Linked DNA regions of Homo sapiens: region 2 is linked to region 1. Evidence: promoter capture Hi-C in 16 types of primary human blood cells and fetal thymus (Javierre and others, 2016). All regions are on one chromosome and are shown on one strand. The core of a region is centred on a gene start or on the middle of the fragment in contact, and the rest is flanking DNA. Distances in the headings are between cores, read along the strand shown.

Region 1 (6,583 bases), core at 1-2,500:
CTGGTTCTACGCTGTTCTCAGTACTGCAGACCCTGCAACAAATCCATGCCCCCCGCCACGGCCCGGGCACTGCCCCATGCAACTCCCTGGTACCTGGGCACCCGGCAGCCCAGCCCTCGTCACAGTGACCTCAGGGCCAGGCCCAGGGTACAGCACCAGCAGCGCCAGCTCTGGGGGGCCAGCTCCTCCAGGCGGGGGCTCCTGGAACCTCAGCGAGGGTGTTGGCTCCCAGGTCACTGCAGCCGGGACAGCAGGGGACGCCTGAGCCATTGAAGGCCACACCCCCCGGGAATCTTTGGGATCTGTCCCTGCCGCTCTGGCCACTGTGCAGGGGACCTCAAGCGGGGGACAAGGGTGCCCCTCTTAGCTGCCTTCCTGCAGCCAGGGAGCGGTGACGGCAGGGGCAGGCAGGGGCTGCGTCTGAGGCTGTGGGTGGGGCTGCCGCCCTGGGGTCTCTGGGTTGGGGTGCCCGATGAAGCCCCTTCCCCGCAGGGAGTATCTTAGGCCAGCGGCCCTGAGAACAGGCTGGGGCTGTGGGAAGAAGGGTTCCACTGGCCCCGAGCCCTGCGTCGTCTTCAGGGGTGGGGAGAAGGCAGCAGCTCTCTCCCTGGCACCGAGGCAGGGGCAAGTCTAAGAGCTGGGCTTCGGGGACAGGACAGAGTGTGGTGCCCACCTTCCAGGCCACGGACCCGCAACCCAGTCCTAGGAACAAGACCACAGCCTCCCTGCCCAGGGTGGGGGCTCTGCCAGCCCCTGATCTTCCCTAGGAGGACCCGGCCCACCTGAAGGAAGACGGCGGTGCCAAGCTTGGGGCTGGGCCCCACATACCTTCCTCCAGGTGTAGGACCACCAGGCGCTGCCCCCCAGGGTCCCGCAGCCAGGCCCCCAGCCGCCGTAGAGAGGGCAAGGCAGCCTGCCTGTCACCGGTGTTGCAGACCCCGAAGGTGGCCAGGTCTCGGGGGCCCCAGCGGGCCCTCTGCACGGCCCCCAGGAAGGCCTGCTCATAGGCGCTTAGAGCCCCCACCACCCGCAGGGGGGAGCTGCTGCCATTGCTGTCCCCGCCCAGTGCCACCAGGCACAGAGGCTCTTGTGGGCTGCCTGGAGGCCAGTCCAAGTCTTCTCGGAAGATGAGGCCACTGGTGCCCACAGCTGGCTCCTCTGCTCTGAGGGCCTCAGTCCCCAGCAGAGCCCCCAGGGCAGACAGCACTAGGGCCAGGCTGGTGAGAGGCAGGTCCCGCATCGTGGGTGCTGCCAGGGGCTGGGCTGCCTGCCTTAAGTGAGCCGAGTGGAAGGTGGGGTGTTTGTGCAGGACAGACCCCTATCTCCTCTGCCGCGACCTTGGGGGACAGTGCCCGGCGCCCCCACTCCAGGCAGAGTGGCCTTCTCAAAGAGCCCTTTCTGTCCCTGGCAGCCTATCTCCCTCCCCAGTGATAGAGCTGGGCCTGATGTGTCAACATGCCGTCCTTGAGGGCCATCCCCAGAAGACACAGGAGTGGGAACCAGGCTGGGAGTGACGGCCAGGCAACCAAACTAGACAGCGCTGGGGGCGGGGGGCCCAGATGTCCTGGGTGCTGAGGTGTGGGCCTGGAGGAGGAGGGTCCCAAGTCAGTGGGGGCGCCCTGTCCCTGCTCACCCTCCCCACCCCTGGTGGGCTATCTGGAGACCCCAAGGATATCGTGGAGTCTGCTCTTCCCTCCCCAGAACAGGACCCCAGATCCCCTCCTAGCTGGCTGGTGGGGTCTGTCCTCCACCAGGCCATCTCCAAGGTACAGCCATCTCTCAGGCCTCCCACAGGTGTCTCCTGGCGGGCCCCAGGCCCTCCCCAGTCGGCCCAAACTGGGGGATGGTGCTGTGCCTGGCACTCCCACACACACTGACACAGTAGGGCGGCGCTGCGGACATCAGTGCACTCAGGGCTGGGGGAGGCTGTTTAATGAGCGGGGGGCAGTACAAAAGAGCAGCCTTCTCTCAGTGGGAAAAGGCAAGAGCACCTGGCGCTGGGCTTGCTGGGGGAGGGAGCAGCTTCTCAGTTGGTTGGGGGAGGGGGAGGTATGTTCCCTGGGCCTTCGGAGGGAAGTGGGGGCCTCAGCATTGGGGGCATGGGAGTTGGGGGGTGCACCCCAGGATTTGAGGGGTGAACTCCCGGAGGCTGAGGGTGGACCCCAGGAGCCGACGGATGGACCCCGGGAGGTTGGGGGTGGACCCCCGGGGCCTGAGGGTGCATCCCTGGGGCTGGTGGGTGCACCCCTGGGGCCTGAGGGTGAACGGCGGGGGCTGCTGGGTGCACCCCCGGGGCCTGGGGGTGAACCCCCGCTGATGGGGGAGGATGGACCCCTGGGGCTGGTGGGTGAACCCCAGGGGCTGGTGGGTGGACTCCGGGGGCTGGTGGGTGAACCCCGGGGGCTGGAGGGTGGACTCCAGGAGCTGGGGGGTGGACCCCAGAGGTTGGTGGGTGGACCCCAGGGGCTGGGGGATGGACGCCAGGAGCTGGGGGGTGGACGCCAGGAGCTGGGGGATGGACCCCAGATGCAGGGGGATGCACCACTGGGGCCGGGGGGTGGACCCCTGGAGCTGGCGGGGGTAGCTGGGGTGGTCCCGGGGGCCCTGAGGGCGCAGGCCCTGTGGGGGGCATGGGTGGCAGAGGCAGGCCTCCTGGCGGGGGCGGTGGCAAAGACTCAGGCAGCGGTGGCCGAGGGGGCAGACCGTTCATCAGCGGGGGTGGAGGCCGCTTCACCCCAGGGGGGCCAGCAGGGAGGCTGGGTGGAGCCGGGGGCTTCTCCATCTTAAAGTGGAACTGGAGGAAGAACTAGAGAGACGGAGAAAGGTTCAGCAGGCACGGGTGGGGCTAGGGCAGGGCTAGGGCCGCCAGGGCTGGGTGGGAAGGAGCCAGGCTCGGGGCGAGCCACTCACCTGCTTGGTCTCCCGGTTCCAGTGTGTCCAGAACTTGCCCTCCGCCTTGTCGATCTCTCTGCTCGGCACCTGGGAGGGCGGGGGACAGAGAGGGCTCCTGGTCCCTGTGACCTCAGGGCGACCATCAGGCAGGGAGCCCGAGGCACTAGCCTCCCCAGCCCGGACTCTACCCTGGGAGCCCAGGAGAAGGCTGGTAAGACTTTCGTGGGGCACAGGGTTCAGTTCTGGAGTGAAACAGACCTGGCCTCAATGCTAGCACGCTGTTGGCCCCCTCCCTGGGCAGTCACCGTTTGTATTATTTGTTTCCTGATGGCCGCCCTGTCCAGGCATGGGGACAGGCTGTAGGAAGCCCTCCAGCAGCCTGGCCCAGGAAGTGAGGTCACTTGGCAAAGGCCTCACAGGCCTGGCGCTCAGCCCTGCCGGCCTCCCTTCTCATTGGCCCAGTGGAGCCCAAGCAGGCCCTCCTGCAGAGCCCAATGGGAGAGGTGCCCTGCCCGGCCTGTGCAGACCCTTCTGGCTCCGACTTGGGGGGGGCCCAGGGGACCCCAAGCCCGATGGGAGGGGCATCCTGCCCAGCCTATGCAGATCCTTCTGGCTTGCACATCTCAAGGGGGCCCAGGGAACCCCGCAGCCACGCTACCTTGAAGGCAATGGTCTCGTAGGGCTCGGCGGCCATGAGCAGGTACTGCCAGCGCCGGTCCGGAGGCTCGATCCTCTGCTCGTACGCAGACATGAAGCGGTGACGTGGCATGATGCCCTCGGCGATCTCAGGGTAGTCAATCTGCAGGGACACGGCCGGGTGGCAGAGCCGCCTCTTGGGTGCCTTTGGCCGCCCCCCACGCCCAAGTCCCTGATCTCACCTGGAAGAGGAGGCTCTGCTGGCCCATCTCCGAGTCTCTCTGCTTGGTCACTGCAACACAGAAAGCTCTCAGGTCCCGGCTGCTTGTCCTCTCCGAAGCTGAGGAACCTGGGGCAGGCTAATGCCACCCACTGAACGAGAGCGGGACCCCGGGGGAGGCCCTGCAGCTCTGGCAACCATTAGACAATCTCCGCCCAGGCTCTGGGATTCTGGTATAGGTGAAGGCACAGGTGCGCCAGAGCTGAGCTACCTGCGGAGTCACTCAGGCAGGGACCGAGGATGGTGCTCCTTTGTCCCAATCCCCAGAGCCCTTCACCAGGGGTGCTGGGATACCACCCAGCAGGAGTTGGGGCCACTGGGTAGGGAGGGGCCCTCGGCACCCTGGCTCTGGGATTCGAGCGGGGCCGCCTGAACAGGGCTGACACCATGTATACGGTGAGCGAGAGAGGATGCCCTTCCCGCCAGAGCTCAGCAGCCTGGACCCCGAGAATGGCTGCTGGGCTGCCTGCCGCCCGGCCACTCTCCATGCGGCCTCAGACACGCACACTCACAAGCCCTCTGCCGCCTCACCGTCCTGAGCCCAAGCCCAGGACCTGTCAGGGCCTCCCCACCAGGAGCCTGCCGCTCTAGCCACCCTCGCCCACCCGGTGCACCTGCCCCGGGACCTCTGCCCTGCAGGCTTCTGTCTGGAGGCCAGGCACACAGGCTGTCCCCGCCTTCTGTAAAGAACACTTGCTGGGTAGCGTGCCCGCCTTCCTGAACCCTATGGACACAAGTCTCTATCTTCCACCCTGGTCACTTCCCCAGCTTTCTGAACCGGGGTCACCTCTAGCCATTCCCACTGCTGAGGGTCCGGGAGGAGCTGCCTCTAACAGCCGCTTCTCCCTGTCCTCCTTCAAAGGCTTCAAGGTTAACCGGAGGGATGTGCCAGGGCTCACCACACCTCCACTTCCACTCTTTTGCTTGGCAAGAATTCCCAGAAGCTTCCACAAGACCCGGACAGGAGGGCACAGACTGTGGCTCAGCTGGGAAATGGGCTGCTGGGTGAGATGGGTGCTTATCGGGCCCAGCCTGACAGCTCCCAGACACAACGCCAGAGGCTGCAGGTGGGTGAGGGACGGCCACCAAGGCCGGAAAACAGTGGCTCAGGGAGGAGGCTATCAGGGCTGCACCTCCCGCACTGGAGACTAAAGAACACACTTATGTCACGGCAGCGGCTGTGGCCGGCCCCGCTGCGGGCAGACTCACCTTTGTAGCCCGGGCGGCCGATCTTCACAAACTTCTTCACCTCCACCTTGACCTTCTCAGGCGCGGGCTGGGCAGGGGCCTCCTTGGCCTCCTTGGCTGCTCGCCGGGCCCTGCGGACAGGATGGAGGTGCTGCTGGGACCCCTCCACACACAGGCACCAAAGCCATGGGCCCAGGTGCCAGGAGCCCCCTGACCTTGGAGCTCACTACAAGCTGAGAGATGAGGAGGGCCAGGGGCCTGGGAGGGGCCCTGGGGTTTGGCTGAGGACAGGGATAGGACAGGCATGTTCTCTTCCTGTCATGCTCCTCACTGTCCCTGGCTGGGGCCCTTCCAACAACTCCATGCCTCTGCTCTTTTTTTTTTTTTTTAATAAGACAAGAGTCTCACTCTGTCGCCCAGGATGGAGTACAGTGGCAGCACCTTGGTTCACTGCAATCTCTGCCTCCCAGATTCAAGATTCTCCTGCCTCAGCCTCCATAGTAGCTGTGATTACAGACGTGTGCCACCATGCCTGGCCTAATTTTTGTATTTTTAGTAGAGATGGAGTTTCACAATGTTGGCCAGGCTGGTCTCGAACTCCTGACCTCAAGTGATCTGCCCGCCTCAGCCATCCATGCCTCTGTTCTCTAATGCTCCCCAGGAACCGTACTCAAGCGCCCAGGGAGGCTCAGGCCAGGCTGGCTCCCCGGCTGTGGAGCAGTGGCCCGCGAGGCTCACAGAGACTTGAGCCAACGGCTGCTGGAGCACCAGGCATCAAAGGGACATGAGGTACTCACAGGTTGGTCTGGTGCTTCTTCCCCTGCGTATGTGCCAGGTAGCTCCCCTGGAGTGGAAAGGAAACACGCATGACTCGAGGCCGGGCGGACAGACACAGGCAGGTCCCCCTGACGTCAGCCACTCAGCCCGCCGCGAGCCGCCCGGAGCCAGGCAGAGGCCGCACCTCATTGTTGTGAAGTGTCAGGCAGAGTTTGCATTCATAGGAGCCCAGGTGGTTCTTCATGAAGTACGGGTCCTGGAGGGGAAGAACAGGGGCCCGTTAGACAGAAGATCGCGGCCTGCTGCCGTCAAGGCCCTCAGAGGCGGGATCCCCTTTCTGTAGAGGCATGGAGGCAGAACCCCCCTTCTGTAGAGGCATGGCTACCGCTGACAGTGGTCAAGCATTTCTGAAAACGGGGGATCCAGCGGGAGGCCTTCGTGAGCACGGGTGTCACCACCTGGGGCTGTGGGCCAGGCTTCGAGCAGTGGGGGTTCCCAGGGAGCCCCCGACACCACCTTCCTGGTGGTTCTGAGTCAGAGGGAGGCACAGCCAGGACAGCACCGCCGGTCACTCCCGAGGCAGGGAGCCGTCCACTGCCCACGCCACCACGCCAGCAGTAGGCACAAGGCAGACACAGGCACAAGAAAAGCAAATGGGCTACACTGAAGACCCAAAGACCCGCCCATCTGCAGGCCCTAAGCTGGGGCAGCCGGGCGCACACATCTCGTCTCAGACGCTGGAGTTCAAAGTCTAACTCCACCATCTGCGGCTGTGGCACCCCCTCTACCCATGACCTCATCTGGAAGACG
Region 2 (6,583 bases), core at 1-2,500, 260 kb after region 1:
TCCACCTCCATGGAACCCTGGCTGAACCCCCGGCCCTGGTCCCTGTGCTGCCCCCACCCTGGGCAGGTGGGCTGGGCCTCGAGGGGTCCCCGTTGGCCCTCCCCAGGCCTGAGCCTCCCACTTCCCACCTCCCCGCAGATTATTCACACCGATAGCAACACCGTCTTGGGCCAGAACGACACGGGCTTCAGCTGCGACGGCTCAGCCAGCACCTTCCGCGTCATGTTCAAGGAGCCGGTGGAGGTGCTGCCCAACGTCAACTACACGGCCTGTGCCACGCTCAAGGTGCGCCGCCGGGGACAGGGGTCCCTCCGTGGGAGTCTCTGGCCCATCCTGAAGCCACCGGGGCACAGCACACACTCTCCAGAGGCAGCCACCCTGGCCCAGTCGGGGCCTTGCCCTGTCCACACCTGGGGCATCCCAGCCTGGTGGTCCTTGACCTCACTGTACCCCTATTCCCTACAGGGCCCAGACTCCCACTACGGCACCAAAGGCCTGCGCAAGGTGACACACGAGTCGCCCACCACGGGCGCCAAGACCTGCTTCACCTTTTGCTACGCGGCCGGGAACAACAATGGCACATCCGTGGAGGACGGCCAGATCCCCGAGGTCATCTTCTACACCTAGGCTGCCCGACACCGACACCGCCCTCCCTCCGTGGGGATAGCCGCAGCCCCAGGCCATCATCTGCTGCTGGGGCCCCCCCACCACGCGGTGCCAGGCCCAGTGTCCCCCAGGCCGTCTGTCCACTCCATGCCACCTTTCTCAGCATCAGGACGGGGTTGCCCTGTGTTCACCACGAGTGTGGCTGCTGGATCAGGGCAGCCGGGGAGGTGGCCAGGCCAGTGGCCAGGCCCTGTGGAGACAATCCCTCAGGACTAGGGACAGGGCTGTGCCGGCCTGGGCCAGGGCCCACGGACCCGCAGCTCAGGGCGCCTGCCCACGTCGTCTGCCGGCGGTGCGCCGCGGGCGTCCCTCGCGTCTCTTCACTGCACATTGCAATGCATTTGCGATTCCCATTTCTCTGCTAGGAGCCAGCCTGGGTGGCGCTGCTCCCAGAGCCGTGGGTCCCAGACCTTGCGTTCCTTTTGTTCCTGTCCGTTTATCAGGACACGGGCCCCACCTGTCACGTGCCCGAGGCCACCCAAGCCCAGCCTGCGGGGCGTTCCCACTGCCTGGATGCCGGCTTGAGTTCTGCGCACGCAGGATTCAGTGTGGGGACGGCCCCTGCCGGATAGGCCTAGCCCTGGCCCAGGTGGTGAGCGGTTTGCAGTGTCCGTTCTCATCCACCTGATGGGCCCAGATAAAGGCCCCCGCTGTCCAGCCTCCCTGGACGGCCCTCGCGGTCCCTGCAGCCCAAGATGGGACTCAGACCCTGTGCCCCAGAGCTCCCCTGCCGCAGAATGGGGCCCCAGCCGGCCCCGACCGGGTCCAGGAGCACTGCTCGCCTGTACATACTGTTGCCCTAGCCCACCTGGTGCCGTGGGAGCCACCCCCAGGTGCTGGGGGCACAGCCCCTCCCCACTCCGGCCACGCCCCCACCCACCCCGCGTGTTTCTGCCCTGTGACTCCTGGAACCTGCGTCCTCCCCAAAGCCATGGGAGGGGTGTCCTCCTCAGACCATGCCCCCAGATGATTTTTTTAAATAAAGAAACAAATGCACCTGCCTTGAGCGCACACTGCTTTGCTCCCCTTCACTCTCTGCCCTGTCATCCGGGCTGCAGTGGGCGAGGGATGTCGTGCGCCGAGAGGGGCCCTGAACCCCGGGTCTGGTCGCCAGTGCTGCGAGACCCTCCTTAAGTACCCACAGGCCACACTGAAGCCCGGGAGGTCGAGACTGCAGTGAGCAGTGATGCACCACTGCCCTCCCCCCTGGGCAAGAGCAAGACCCTAACTAACTCAACACCTCCCCCCAAACCCAAATGCAATGGACGTGTGTGCCGATTTCCCCGTGGGGAGGCCCTGCTGGCTGCTGGGGGACCGTGGATGTGAGAGATGGAGAGAAAGCAGGGAGTGCCCAGTTGTGGCCTCAGTGGCCAGAGAAGTCAAGCCGTTGGCTGCTGCCTCAGGAGCACACGTGCAGGGCAAGACATCAAGAAACCCGGCAGCAAGGCCGCGTGGTGGCTCACACGTCATTACAGCACCTTGGGAGGCCGGGCGGGTGGATCACCTGAGGTCAGGAGTTCAGGACCAACCTGGCCGACATGGTGAAACCCCATCTCTACTAAAAACACAAAAATTAGCCAGGTATGGTGGCAGGCACCTGTAATCCCAGCTACTTGGGAGGCTGAGGCAGGCGAATCGCTTGAACCTGGGAGATGGAGGTTGCAGTGAGCCAAGATGGTGCCATTGCACTCCAGCCTGGGCGAGAAAGCAAGACTCCGTCTAAAAAAAAAAAAGCCAGCCGCAAACAGTTGCCAGGAGGCTGAAGGCTGAGCAGATCTCCACAGTGCGCAGTGCTGGGAGCAGGCAATGGAGATGGAGGCTGGCGGGGTAGGGGGCCTTGTCGAACACCCTGGGGGCCGGGCGTGCTGGCTCACACCTGCAATCCCAGCACTTTGGCAGGCTGAGGCAGAACTGCTAGGGGCCAGGAGTTTGAGACCAGCCTGGGCAACACAGCAAGACCCCATCTCTAAAAAAATACATATTAAAAGGAAACACCTTGGGCTTCTAATGAAGACACCAGAAGGGCCACCCACCAGGAGCTAGGGCAACACTCCTGTGGGGAGGACAGAACGGAAGCCGTCATCACTCCAAAACAAAACCCTGGTAGGGTCTCACTGGGCTGCTGTTACGCTGGACCCTGCCAAAAGAAAACACAGCCCTGTGAAGAAACATCAGCACCAGCTTCTACCATCTGTCATTTACAACGTCCAGCATCCATTTAAAAATGACAGGCTGGGCGTGGTGGCTCATGCCTGCAATCCCAGCACTTTGGGAGGCCGAGGCAGGTGGATCATCTGAGGTCAGGAGTTCGAGACCAGCCTGGCCAACATGGCGAAACCCGTCTCCACTAAAAATACAAAAATTAGCGAGGCGTGGTGGCGTGCATCTGTAATCCCAGCTACTTGGGAGGCTGAGGCAGGAGAATCACTTGAACCTGGGAGGCAGAGGTTGCAGTAAGCCACGATTGTGCCACTGCACTCCAGCCCAGGGAGACAGAGCAAGACTGTCTCAAAAAAAAAAAAAAAAAAAAAAAAAGCCAGGTATGGTGGCTCATGCCTGTAATCCCAGCACTTTGGGAGGCTGAGGCAGGCAGATCACGAGGTCAGGAGATCAAGACCATCCTGGCTAACATGATGAAACCCCGTCTCTACTAAAAAAAACTACAAAAATTAGCCAGGTGTGGTGACAGGTGCCTGTGGTCCCAGCTACTTGGGAGGCTGAGGCAGGAGAATGGCGTGAACCCGGGAGGTGGAGCTTGCCAGTGAGCCGAGATCTCGCCACTGCACTCCAGCCTGGGCAACACAGCAAGACTCTGTCTCAAAAAACAAACAAACAAACATGCAAGGTGAAGCACAGTGAGTAAAAACAATGGAAAAACAGAACAGATCGAGATACGTGACACAGCCAAAGGGTTGAACGTATGTGTAAGTGGAGTCCCAGAAGGAGAGAGAGAGAATGAGACTCAAGCTATATGACAGCCAAGAATTTTCCAAAATGAATGAAAGACGTTGACCCACAATTTTTTTTTTTTTTTTTTTTTTTTTTTTTTTGAGACAGAGTCTCTCTCTGTCACCCAGGCTGGAGTGCAGTGGTGCAATCTCGGCTCACTGCAAGCTCCGCCTCCCGGGTTCACGCCATTCTCCTGCCTCAGCCTCCCGAGGAGCTGGGCCTATAGGTGCCTGCCGCCACGCCCGGCTAATTTTTTGTATTTTTAGTAGAGATGGGGTCTCACCGTGTTGGCCAGGATGGTCTCGATCTCCTGACCTTGTGATCCACCAGCCTCGGCCTCCCAAAGTGCTGGGATTGCAGGCGTGAGCCGCCGCGTTTTAAAAACTTTGTCAGTGGAGCATGCTGGCTCATGCCTGTCATCCCAGCACTTTGGGAGGCCGAGGTGGGTGGATCACTTGAGGTCAGGAGTTCAAGACCAGCCTGGCCAACATGGTGAAACCCCGACTCTACTAAAAATACAAACATTATCCAGGTGTGGTGGCACACGCTTGTAATCCCAGCTACTCGGGAGGCTGAGGCAGGAGAACTGCTTGAACCCGGGAGGTGGAGGCTGCAGTGAGCCGAGACCACGCCAATGCACTCCAGCCTGGGTGACAGCGAGACTCTGTCCCAAACAAACACTTTGTCAACCTGGAATGCCACTACCAGCAAAAACATCCTTATTAAGAAAGGTGAAATAAATATTTTTTTCAGGGAACAAATGCTAATTTGTAATTTGTTACCGACAAAGCTGCACTCGGCCCGGCGTGGTGGCTCACGCCTCTCATCCCAGGGTCACTTTCCCACCTCGTCCTCCGCAAGTGCCTGGACAACAGAGCCAGACAGGCAACCCTATCTCTACCTAAAAACAAAACAGAACAAAACAATTAGCTGAGTGTGGTGGTGCACGTCTATGGTCCCAGATACTTGGGAGGCTGAGGTGGGAGGATCGCTTGAGCCCAAGAGGTGGAGGCTCCAGGGAGCTATGACTGTGCAACTGCACGCCAGCCTAGGCCAGGCCCTGTCTCAAAAAAAAAAAAAAAAAAGCTGCACTGTAAGAAATATTGAAGTTCTTCAGGCTGAAAATTATCCCAGAGGTAGTTTTGGGATTCTGTCGCCCGGGCTGGAGTGCGGTGGCGAGATCTGGGCTCACTGCAAGCTCCGCCTCCCGGGTTCACGCTATTCTCCTGCCTCAGCCTCCCCAGTAGCTAGGACTACAGGCGCCCGGCTAATTTTTTGTATTTTTAGTAGAGACAGGGTTTCACCATGTTAGCCAGGATGGTCTCGCACTCCTGACCTCGTGATCCGCCAGCCTCGGCCTCCCAAAGTGCTGGGATTACAGGAGTGAGCTACCCTGCCCGGTCCCAGATGTAATTTCTGATCAGCAGAAAGAAATGAAGAGCATCAGAAAAGGTTAACATGTGGGTAAATATATAAAGCACATGACAAGTAGTCCTTATCCCCAAGCTACTGCCGGGAAAACCATCGATGAGCTCATTCCATTTCCCTCTTGCCATCTGACTCTTACAGGTGCATTATTTCTGCTTTGTCACAACATATTACGGTGGTACTGGTCTTCCACCCTTGCTGCCGGGTATGGGGTGTTGTCTGGGGAGAAGGCACGGGGCGGAGCCGGGGCTAGTGCTGCCAAGGTCTTCACCTGCCTGCAGTTTCCGCTGTTCTTCTGGGAGCTACTGCTGATTCCCTTCACAGTGTCGTGGCCCCCGTGGAGATGTTTTCTGCCCTGCTGCGTGAACAGAGGGAGTCAAGGAGGCCTTCCGCCGTCAGAGCAGCCAGGACCATCCTGCCTGGGCCCCGTCGCTGAGGCTTTCAGGTATATTTGTGTAGTGTCGGGGAACGGGACCCCCGGGGCCAAGTCGCATGTGTGTGACTTCCCCTTTCCATGGTACGTGAACACTCGTCTCCTGCCCTCTCCCCAGACAGAGCCCAGCTCTGCCCTCTGCTTCCATCTTCCTTACCTTCCGCCTCATCAGTCGGTTTCTGTTACCGGAGGCCGCCAGCCGCTCCGGACTCGTCCCGGACAGGCAGGATGGGGATGGAAGCAACGCCCGTTCCAGGTCAAGCTTCGTGGAAAGCCCAGACAAATCCCTCTACACTTGGGTTTGGTTTCATTTTTCTTTTATTTTTTTAAAAAAGCCCCTAAATTCTATGGCTTCAAGGGAGCATCAGAGAAACGTAAATGCCATTTCTGTACACTTGGTAAAGCAAAAACTAGACTCACAGCCACCGCCCTGGGCACGGCCCCAAGCTGCTCCACTCTGCCCGGCAGCCTCCAGGGCACCCCACTGGGGAACCGCCCGCCAGTCCAGGGCCGCCCCCAGGCCCCTGCAATATACCTGCAGGGCTGGGCCGGGGGCTTTAAGGCGTTTTGTCTCCGGCTGCTTGCCGGGTGTCGGAGCAGAGAGGCAGGAAGCTCCGTGCCCACGCGCCCCACGCGGCAGGGCTGAGGGCCGAGCAGGGTGACACCAACCGGTCCTCCCACCTCGGGTTCCAGGCGCCGGGGCGCAGCCTCCGGGAGCAAGTGCGTCGAGAAGCACCCGCCTGGCAGCGCCCACCCGCCCCTTGCCAGGGCCAGGCTGGGAAGAGACTGCAGCAGCCGTGCCCGCGGCGCCCGAGCTTTGGTGCAGCATTTTGGTTGGGGAGCCGGCTTCAGCCACGGCCCCACCCCTGCCTTCCCCTTTGGTTTCGGGGAGGCCTGGGGCACGGCCTCACCCCTGGCAACAATGCCTGTCCCCCTCCCAGGAGGGCCTGGGCAAGACAGCTCCACAGCACCCCTCCAGGCCGGGCCTGCCCTCCCCTCGAGAAAACGGCCTTTGGATCGAGGGAGACAAGCTGGACTTTATGACGCTAACGGGGGCGGCTGGCGGGGCGGGGCCAGGCCGGGGGGCCTCCAGGATCACACTACTCA

What was found. The method cuts DNA at HindIII sites, captures the fragments that hold promoters and counts their contacts. A CHiCAGO score of 5 or more calls a contact.
Region 2: a contact is called between a fragment that was not itself captured here and the fragment with the promoter of AMH in region 1, in 1 of 17 cell types (neutrophils). The highest score is 6.1, in neutrophils.

Annotation. Positions count from the first base shown.
Region 1 is chr19:2,243,990-2,250,572 of GRCh38, reverse strand. AMH (anti-Mullerian hormone) reads right to left here and starts at 1,250. Exons shown (of 5, transcript NM_000479.5): 1 at 829-1,250; 2 at 94-236. The coding sequence starts at 1,240. SF3A2 (splicing factor 3a subunit 2) reads right to left here. Exons shown (of 9, transcript NM_007165.5): 3 at 5,958-6,029; 4 at 5,794-5,840; 5 at 5,018-5,127; 6 at 3,771-3,820; 7 at 3,551-3,691; 8 at 2,911-2,979; 9 at 1,918-2,806. The coding sequence ends at 2,027. RefSeq lists promoters at 1,241-1,272, 1,241-1,450, 1,241-1,520, 1,272-3,306, 1,241-4,239 and enhancers at 1,168-1,307, 3,362-3,863, 3,162-4,239, 4,493-4,993. The HindIII fragment of the contact is 3,946 bases long and covers 809-4,754 here.
Region 2 is chr19:1,980,532-1,987,114 of GRCh38, reverse strand. BTBD2 (BTB domain containing 2) reads left to right here. Exons shown (of 9, transcript NM_017797.4): 8 at 139-285; 9 at 466-1,667. The coding sequence ends at 627. CSNK1G2 (casein kinase 1 gamma 2) reads right to left here. Exons shown (of 12, transcript NM_001319.7): 12 at 5,777-6,583. Among named protein-coding and RNA genes, the nearest start is that of CSNK1G2-AS1, 29 kb to the right of the region's middle. The HindIII fragment of the contact is 8,980 bases long and covers 1-5,740 here.